Regions from separate parts of the Homo sapiens genome. Here regions 2 and 3 are each linked to region 1. Evidence: promoter capture Hi-C in human tissues and cell types (Jung and others, 2019). All regions are on one chromosome and are shown on one strand. The core of a region is centred on a gene start or on the middle of the fragment in contact, and the rest is flanking DNA. Distances in the headings are between cores, read along the strand shown.

Region 1 (3,033 bases), core at 41-2,540:
GCAGAGTCAGAACCATCCTGCACCCCCTTTTCAAACTCCCCCCTTAAATAGAAAAAAGTAGTGGGTGAGAATGACAAAGCACGTTGCCCTGGAAATCTCTTGGGTCCAAGTAGCTGTATCCCTAACGACGATCCTACAGGAGCTTGCCTGACCCAGTCTCCAACACAGTCCTTTATTTCTTACAGATACAAGGAATAGAGCAGCACTGCATTGCCACCTCTAAATTGCTCTCCCCTGAGATGGGAGTATCTCCTCTTTCATCCATGTCACAGCCCAAAGAGTAGAAGGGTGCACCCCTGTGAGATGAGAATGGCATCTGTCTCTTTGATCCATCAGTTATATACTGAGGCATCAAAGGTGGGAGATGGAATCAGGGAATCAAAAGGGTTTAGGAAGTGTGAGGGTTGGCCATCCTACCTTTAAGAGTTTGCAGTTCTCATGAGGAAGGGGACATTACTTAGAAATGATTTAAAAAATTCCTTATGTGGCAGCTATATGCTTCTGTCCAGTGTTAACTGGCCCTTTTTAATAGCCCTGGTAATTCCCTTCAGTCTGAGGACAAAATTTTACAAGAAGGAGGGTGGGGAGATGTCTCTGGGAGCTGCTGGAGGGAATGAAGCAATACTACATATTCTTCACTTTCTTACAGGATAGCAAAGTACTCCTCCAACCACCTACAGATAAAAAGCAATCTAGCCATGCACGGTGGCTCACACCTGTAATCCTAGCACTTTGGGAGGCCAAGGCAGGCGGATCACCTGAGGTCAGGGGTTCGAGACCAGCCTGGCCAACATGGTGAAACCCCATCTGTACTAAAAATACAAAAATTACCTTGGCGTGGTGGTGGGCGCCTGTAATCCCAGCTACTTAGGAGGCTGAGGCAGGAGAATCGCTTGAACCTGGGAGGTTGCAGTGAGCCCGGATCGCTTCATTGCACTCCAGCCTGGGCAACAAGAGCAAGACTCTGTCTCAAAAAAAAAAAAAAAAAAGCCATCTAGTATGGCTGATAGGAGAGCTCTATGAGTTCAAATTAGTCTTTTTTTACCCTGTCTCAAAAAATAAATGAAAAATAAAAATAAACTCCCCTTAAATGTTAAATGAGCATGAACAGAAACTGTCCCTTCCTGAATTCAGCCATTATTCACCTGTTCGCCTTAGATGAAGAATCAAGGAACAGCAGCTCTAGGGGGTTGGGAGGAGTTAGGGTCCGGCCCTGCCCCAGACCTCTCAGTGTCCAATTTCTCTGTGTCAGCTGTGTTTCTCAGCTGTCCACTTTCCTCCAGCCCTGTCATTTCAGCCCTGACACCAAGGCAGGAGGCTAGGAGGTCTACAAATAGCGACTGGGTAGCTGGTGTGAACACAGGGGGTACTGGGGGGGCTTAGCCCCCAAGGAAGAGGACCAGTTTTTCCCCAGCACCACCATCAAGGCCTCGAGGCTCCCAGCTCCCTCTACAGCCTGTGGACTGACTTAGGGAATCCCGAACGTAAGTTACCTCTTCATCCTCTTGATTTCCACGACTGCTCACCCCAGCTGCCCTGATCTATAATCTACTCAGCTTCTTCATTTCTCTCCTTGTCTGTGAGTCTTTTGGGTTTTAGGCGTAAAATTATTATTCTACTCTAGGATGAGTTTGGATTGAAGCGGGGGGTGGGGGTGGGGGTGGGGTGAAGGGAATGAAGTAGTAAGGGAAGGAAAGGCTCATATTACCCTGAAAACTTAAAATAGCTGAGCCCTGAGGCAGGCTGGGACAGAACTAGGCACAGGGCCCCCAGGGCTCAAGAAAAAAGTAGGGGAGGACAAATGTCTCCAGTCCATCCTTCCTTGTGTGCACACGAGGACACACATTAAACCTCTTGAAGAGAGGAGATCTGGGAAGGTATGCATCACATCTCTGTTGCCCACAGATTTCCAGGAGAAACAAAGTACCTATAGGAAAATGACGTAAACCACGCAGCTTTGAACACTGTGTAAGGGCTGTAAACTATGGGGTCGCCCCTCAGGATGGAAGGATGAGTATCAGTTTGAGGAACTAATTGGGAAGCTCTTTAGTCTGTTGGGCTTTTTTTTTTTTTTTTTTTTTTTTTTTGAGACGAAGTCTTGCTCTGTCACCCAGGCTGGAGGGCAGTGGCACAATCCCGGCTCACTGCAACCTCCGCCTCCCGGGTTCAAGCGATTATCCTTCCTCAGCTTCCTGAGTGGATGGGATTACAGGCGTCCGCCACCACACCCGGCTAATTTTTATATATTTAGTAGAGATGGGGTTTCACCATGTTGGCCAGGCTAGTCTTGAACTCCTGATCTCTAGTGATCCGCCTGCCTCAGCCTCCCAAAGTGCTGGGATTACAGGCATGCACCACCACACCCGGCCATGTTAAGCTTTTTTCTAGACCTCCATGAAATCTGTTAATAAAACCTGCCAAAGGATCTGTATTTGGCCCAGTGCAGTGGCTCACGCCTGTCTCAACAATTTGGGAGGTTGAAACAGGAAGATTGCTTGAGCTAGTTCGGGACCAGCCTAGGCAACAAAGCAAGACCATGTCTCTACAAAAAATAAAAAAGTAGCCAGGTAGTGTGCACCTTGTGTTCCAGCTACTCAGGAAGCTGAGGTAGGGGGATCGCTTCAGGCTGGGAGGTCGAGGCTGCAGTGAGCCATGATCACGCCACTGCACTCCAGCCTGGGTGACAGAGTGAGACCCCATCTCAACAGTAACAACAGCAAAATCTCTCATCACATTTCTCCGAAAGCCTCCCCTTTGAGGACCACCCTACTGCAAGGGACAGAAAGGGAGAGAAGAATGAAAGGGATTAGATTTCATAGTGGGGTCCAACCTCTTGCAGGATGACAGAAAAGGAGGTGCTGGAGTCCCCTAAGCCCTCCTTCCCAGCAGAGACTCGGCAAAGTGGGGTGAGTCTGGGCCTCTGACCACTGGGTGTGGGGGGCTGGGAAGCCATTACAGCTGAAGAAGAGTGCTTAAATTGATCTCATTTGTGTGTGACTCATTTTTTGCTGGCCAGCACCTGCAGTCCCCAAT
Region 2 (2,941 bases), core at 54-2,553, 130 kb after region 1:
ATCACCTGGAGAGTTTTTAAAAATCCCAGTGCTGTGGTGGCATGCATCTGTAGGCCCAGCTACTCAGGAGACTAAGGTGGGAGGATTGCTTGAGCTCAGGAGGTTGAGGCTGCAGTGAACCTGATCACTGCATGATCATGCCACTGCACTCCAGCCTGGGTAACAGAGTGCAACCCTGTCTCAAAAAGAAAAATAAATGAATCAATGCTGGAGGATTTATGCTACTTGATTTCAAGACTTGTAAGTGACAGTAATCAAGACTATGTGGTGCTAGCATGAGAATTGACAAACAGATCCATGGAGCAGAATAGAGAACCAGAAATAGACTCACAATCATTTGATTTTTTAATAAAAATTCTATATGCGTTTATTATTTTATAATGTTACTTTTATATACTTTTATCTTGGAATTATTTTTCGTTTGATTAGTTTTCTATGCATCTATCATTTTCCCCAAATATCTCAACATAATTTTAAAAAATCAGATAGTTGTTTGATTTCTTATTGCAATTCCTTTGTGTTTACCACCCCTCCACCCTGCTCATCCCTATCTCACCCTGTGCAACTTCTGCATTCTTGCTTCAATGTTGACTAGGCACAGGCTTCGTTTTTCTTTTTGAGACAGAGTTTTGCTCTGTTGCCCAGTCTGGAGTGCAGTGGTATGATCATAGCTCACTGCAGCCTCAACCTCCTGGGCTTAAACTATTTTCCCCTGTCAACTTCCCAAGTAGCTGGGACTACAGACACATGCCACCATGCCTGGCTTCAGCATCCATTCTTAAACTCCTTTTCACCATTGATCTGGGATTTTACTCTTAGCTGGAACCTGTCTGAGACCCGACTATTGGAGGTCTCTTACTGCTGGAGGATGGTATCTCTGGGAAAGGCCCACTCCCAGACCCAGGAATGTAGGATCCATCTCAGTGCAGCTTTTCTCAGCTCTCTACTTGTCTGGGGTACCACACTTCTCAACCGGATTCTGTACTTCTCATAAAGGTATTTTGATCAGTAAATTGTTAAATCTGTGTTTCTGTGAGGGGATGAGAGGCGGGACTTCGTATTGCACCAACTGGCTGATCCCACTGTAAAGGTCATTTGATTTTGGCAAAGATGTCAAAGCCAGCCAGTGGAGAAAGGAATGTCTGTTCAATAAATAGTTATGGAACAACTTCATATCTATATGGGAGAAATAAATGAACCTTGACCCCTACCTCACACCATATGCAAAAATTAATTCAAGATTGATTATAGGCTGGGCCCAGTGGCTCACACCTGTAATCCCAGCACTTTGGGAGGCTGAAGCAGTTGAATCACCAGAGGTCAGGAGTTCAAGACCAGCCTGCCCAACATGGTGAAACTCTGTTTCTACTAAAAATACACAATTAACAGGCCAGGCATGGTGGCTCACACCTGTAATCTCAGCACTTTGGGAGGACAAGGCGGGTGGATCATCTGAGCTCAGTTCAAGACCAGCCTGGCCAACATGGCAAAACACTGTCTCTACTAAAAATACAAAAATTAGCTGGGCATGGTGGTGCATGCCTGTAATCCTAGCTACTCAGGAGGCTGAGGCAGGATAATCGCTTGAACCTGAGAGGCGGAGGTTGCAGTGAGCTGAGATCACACCACTGCACTCCAGCCTGAGTGACAGCGAGACTCTGTGTCAAAAAAATTAATTAATTAAAAAAATAAAAATACAAAAATTAGCTGGGTGTGGTGGTGGGCACCTGTAATCCCAGCTACTCAAGAGGCTGAGGCAGGAGAATTGCTTGAACCCAGGAGGTGGAGGGTGGAGTGAGCCGAGATCGCGCCACTGCACTCCAGCCTGGGTGACAGAGCGAGACTCCGTCTAAAAAAAAAGATTGATTATAGACCTAAACCACAAATGCTAAAATCATAAAGCTTTTAGACAAAAACACAGAATATCTTCATAATTTGGAGGAAAGCAACCCCTTCTTAAGCTATAGAAAGCAATAACATAAATTTCTTGATAAGTGAAACATCAAAATAGAAAACTTTTGCTCGTCAGAAGACATCATTATGGAGTAATCCCAGCACTTTGGGAGGCTGACATAGAAGAACTGCTTGAGGCCAGGAGTTTGAGACCAGCCTGGCCAACAAAGCTAGACTCTGTCACTACAAAAAATTTAAAAAATTAGCCGAGTGTGATGGTGTGCACCTGTAGTCCCAGCTACTCCAGAGGCTGAGAAGAGAGGATTGCTTGAGCCCAGGAGTTAGAGGCTGCAGTGAGTTGATTGTGCCACTGCACTCCAGCCTGAGTGACAGTGAGACCCTGACTCAAAAAAAAAAGACATTATTATGAAAATGTGGAAGTAAGCCAAATAGATAGACAAAACATTGATCTGAGAAGGGACAGAGGAATGCGAGATATATTAAAAATTCCTATAACATAGTAATAAAATGACAACCCAATGAATGGACAATAAGCATATGAAAGGTACTCGAGGCTAGGTGCAGTGGTGCACGCCTGTAATCCCAGCACTTTGGGAGGCCAAGGTGGGAGGATCGCTTGAGGTCAGCAGTTTCAGACCAGCCTAGGCAATATATCGAGACCTCATCTCTACAAAAAGTCCGGGCGTGGTGACTCACGCCTGTAATCCCAGCACCTTGGAAGGCCGAGGCGGGCGGATCACGAGGTCAGGAGTTCAAGACCAGCCTGGCCAATGTGGCCATACCCTGTCTCTACTAAAAATACAAAAATTAGCTGAGCATGGTGGTGGGCACCTGTAATCCCAGCTACTTGGGAGGTTGAGGCAGGAGAATCACTTGAACCCAGGAGGCAGAGGTTGCAGTGAGCTGAGATTGTGCCATTGCACTCCAGCCTGGGCAACAAGAGCAAGACTCCATCTCAAAATAAATAAATAAATAAAATTTAAAAATGATCTAGATATGGAGGTGCATTCCTGCAGTCCTAGCTACT
Region 3 (2,715 bases), core at 50-2,549, 180 kb after region 1:
TGGAGCAAATTACTTAATCTTTCTTAAACATCAGTTCCTCATTTATAAAATAGGGATTATGAGAGTGCTTACCTCATAGCATTGTTGGGAGCATTAAATGAGACAGCATACTGTCTCTTTTATTTATGTATTTATTTTTTATTTTTTTGAGACAGAGTTTTGCTCTTTTTGCCCAGGCTGGGGTGCAATGGCGTGATCTCGGCTCACCTCAACCTCCGCCTCCCAAGTTCAAGTGATTCTCCTGCCTCAGCCTCTCGAGTAGCTGGGATTACAGGCATGTGCCACCACGCCTGGCTAATGTTTTTGTATTTTAGTAGAGACGGGGGGGTTTCTCCATATTGGTCAGGCTGATCTCAAACTTCTGACCTCAGGTCATCCGCCCACCTCAGCCTCCCAAAGTGCTGGGATTACAGGCATGAGCCACCGCGCCTGGCAGCATACTGTCTTAATAGATACTTAATACAAAAAAAAAAATTAGCCGGGCACGGTGGCGGGCGCCTGTAGTCCCAGCTACAGGCTGAGGCAGGAGAATGGCGTGAACCCAGGGGGCGGAGCTTGCAGTGAACCAAGATAGCCCCACTGCAGTCCGGCCTGGGCAAAAGAGCGAGACTGTCTCAAAAAAAAAAAAAAATAGATACTTAATAGTAGTTTTTATTATTACTTTTCTGACTGAATGACTGTGTAATATTTAAATAATTAAACGACAGAAATAAGATTCTGCCTTAGTTCTTCCTTCTTCTCAGTTTTTTTTCTTATTTCTCAGTCTGGCTAATGTTTTAACCCAAAGTTTAGGAAAATGGTTAGTTTAATCTTTTTCATGAAATGAGTTATAGTTATTAGCTTGTTATGTTTAATTCTTGTTTCCTTTCTTTGCATAAAGCTGAAACTGATGTAAATGTGGTCATGCTTCAGGAATCCCAAGTTTGTGAAAAGCGTGCCAGCCAACAATTCTGTTACACAAATGTGCTTATCCCAAAATGGCATGATATATGGACACGGATACAGGTAATAACTTGGAATCCTCTGGCAGTGGCAGCTTCTGTAAATTTCTGTTGGTGATTAGTGAGTATTTTGACACTTTCTTCCCCTTCACATGCTTAAAAAAAATGTTGTTAACAATCTTGTTAGGGTTGAGATTATCCTGAGTTGTGTTTTCATCAATAAGCATTTATGCCTACTTTGTATTCCTCTCTGCTCCCTCAAGTAGATTACGGTATTCTAAGGTAAACTTCTTTCCTCCTCCCTCCTTTTCCCAAAGAAACTGCTTTGTTTTCTTGTCCTTCATTTTGCAGTATGTGTGTGTGCACGCACACATACCCCTCTTTCTTTTTTTATTTTTATTTTTTATTTTTTGAGGCAGAGTCTCCCTCTGTCGCCCAGGCTGGAGTGCAGTGGCACCATCTTGGCTCACTGCAATCTCTGCCTCCCGGGTTCAAGCGATTCTCCTGCCTCAGCCTCCCAAGTAGCTGGGATTACAGGCATACGCCACCACACCTGACCAATTTTTTTGTATTTTTTGTAGAGATGGGGTTTCATCATGTTGGCCAGGCTGGTCTGAAACTCCTGCCCTCAGGTGATCTGCCCACCTTGGCCTCCCAAGGTGTTGGGATTATAGGCATGAGCTATCGCACCCAGCCCCCTTCTTTCTTTTTAAAGGCCTTATGCCTTCTTTGGGCTGGAAACTGTTATGTGCCTGTGAGGATGTAAACTCTTTTGCCCCACTGTTCCTATTCTGATTCTATATGAGATATTTCATAAACCCCCGAGCTGAAGAATTACTTTGGTCTCATTTATTTCATAACACTGTTAAGTCACCTGGCAAACAGGAATGTCTGGCTGTAACAGTGATTGTACAAAATAGGTCCTTTCAGAAATGTCGTAGTTGTTATAAGCATAGTTACTGATAAGGACATTTGTTGTTCACATCAAAAACATAAGGGTGGACTTGTGGATTTGTTTTTTTTTTTTGAGACGGAGTCTCGCTCAGTCACCCAGGCTGGAGTGCAGTGGCACGACCTCGGCTCCCTGCAACCTCTGCCTCTTGAGTAGCTGGGGGCCATGCCCAGCCAACTTGTGGATTTTTAAAAAAAATTCTTTAAAAAAAATGTCTGACAAGCCGGGCGCAGTGGCTCATGCCTGTAATCTCAGCACTTTGGGAGGCTGAGGCGGGCAAATCACTTGAGGTCAGGAGTTCGAGACCAGCCTGGCCAATATGGTGAAACCCCGTCTCTACTAAAAATACAAAAATTAACTGGGCATGGTGGCGCACACCCTGTAGTCCCAGCTACTCAGGAGGCTGAGGCAGAAGAATCGCTTGAATCCAGGAGGTGGCGGTTGCAGTGAGCTGAAGTCATGTCACTGCACTCCAGCTTGGGCGACAGAGCGAGACTCCATCTCAAAAAAAAAAATTATCTGATAAAAAAGTGATACTCCATCTGGGGCACATTATAACCAACATTTACTCATAATCAGTGGCTTGTGACAATGGATTGAACTCAGCCTGTCATTACGGAAAACATTTTTAGTTTTCTGGGGCAGTTTATGCCTGGCAATTTTCTTAATATTATAGACCTTTGCTTTGTGTGATCTCTAATAAATAGCTGTATTGATAACTCTTTCAGTTTGGAAGTCTTTTTTCCCTCTATGTTCTGCCCTAATAGTAGATTCAGATCATGTTAACAAGAAGGTATTCTAACAGCTGTCTCTCTGTAACAT

What was found. The method cuts DNA at HindIII sites, captures the fragments that hold promoters and counts their contacts. A contact is called where the count stands out against the background at its distance.
Region 2: a fragment that was not itself captured here is called in contact with the fragment with the promoter of STAC3 in region 1 in 2 of the 25 tissues and cell types used here (bladder and liver).
Region 3: a fragment that was not itself captured here is called in contact with the fragment with the promoter of STAC3 in region 1 in 1 of the 25 tissues and cell types used here (adrenal gland).

What each region holds. Positions count from the first base shown.
Region 1 is chr12:57,249,444-57,252,476 of GRCh38, reverse strand. It overlaps STAC3 (SH3 and cysteine rich domain 3), which reads left to right and starts at 1,290. Exons shown (of 12, transcript NM_145064.3): 1 at 1,290-1,484; 2 at 2,840-2,906. The coding sequence starts at 2,841. The HindIII fragment of the contact is 9,667 bases long and covers 1-3,033 here.
Region 2 is chr12:57,120,574-57,123,514 of GRCh38, reverse strand. No RefSeq gene overlaps it. Among named protein-coding and RNA genes, the nearest start is that of LRP1, 6.4 kb to the left of the region's middle. The HindIII fragment of the contact is 4,651 bases long and covers 1-2,941 here.
Region 3 is chr12:57,071,078-57,073,792 of GRCh38, reverse strand. NEMP1 (nuclear envelope integral membrane protein 1) reads left to right here. Exons shown (of 9, transcript NM_001130963.2): 2 at 881-1,005. Among named protein-coding and RNA genes, the nearest start is that of NEMP1, 6.4 kb to the left of the region's middle. The HindIII fragment of the contact is 5,784 bases long and covers 1-2,715 here.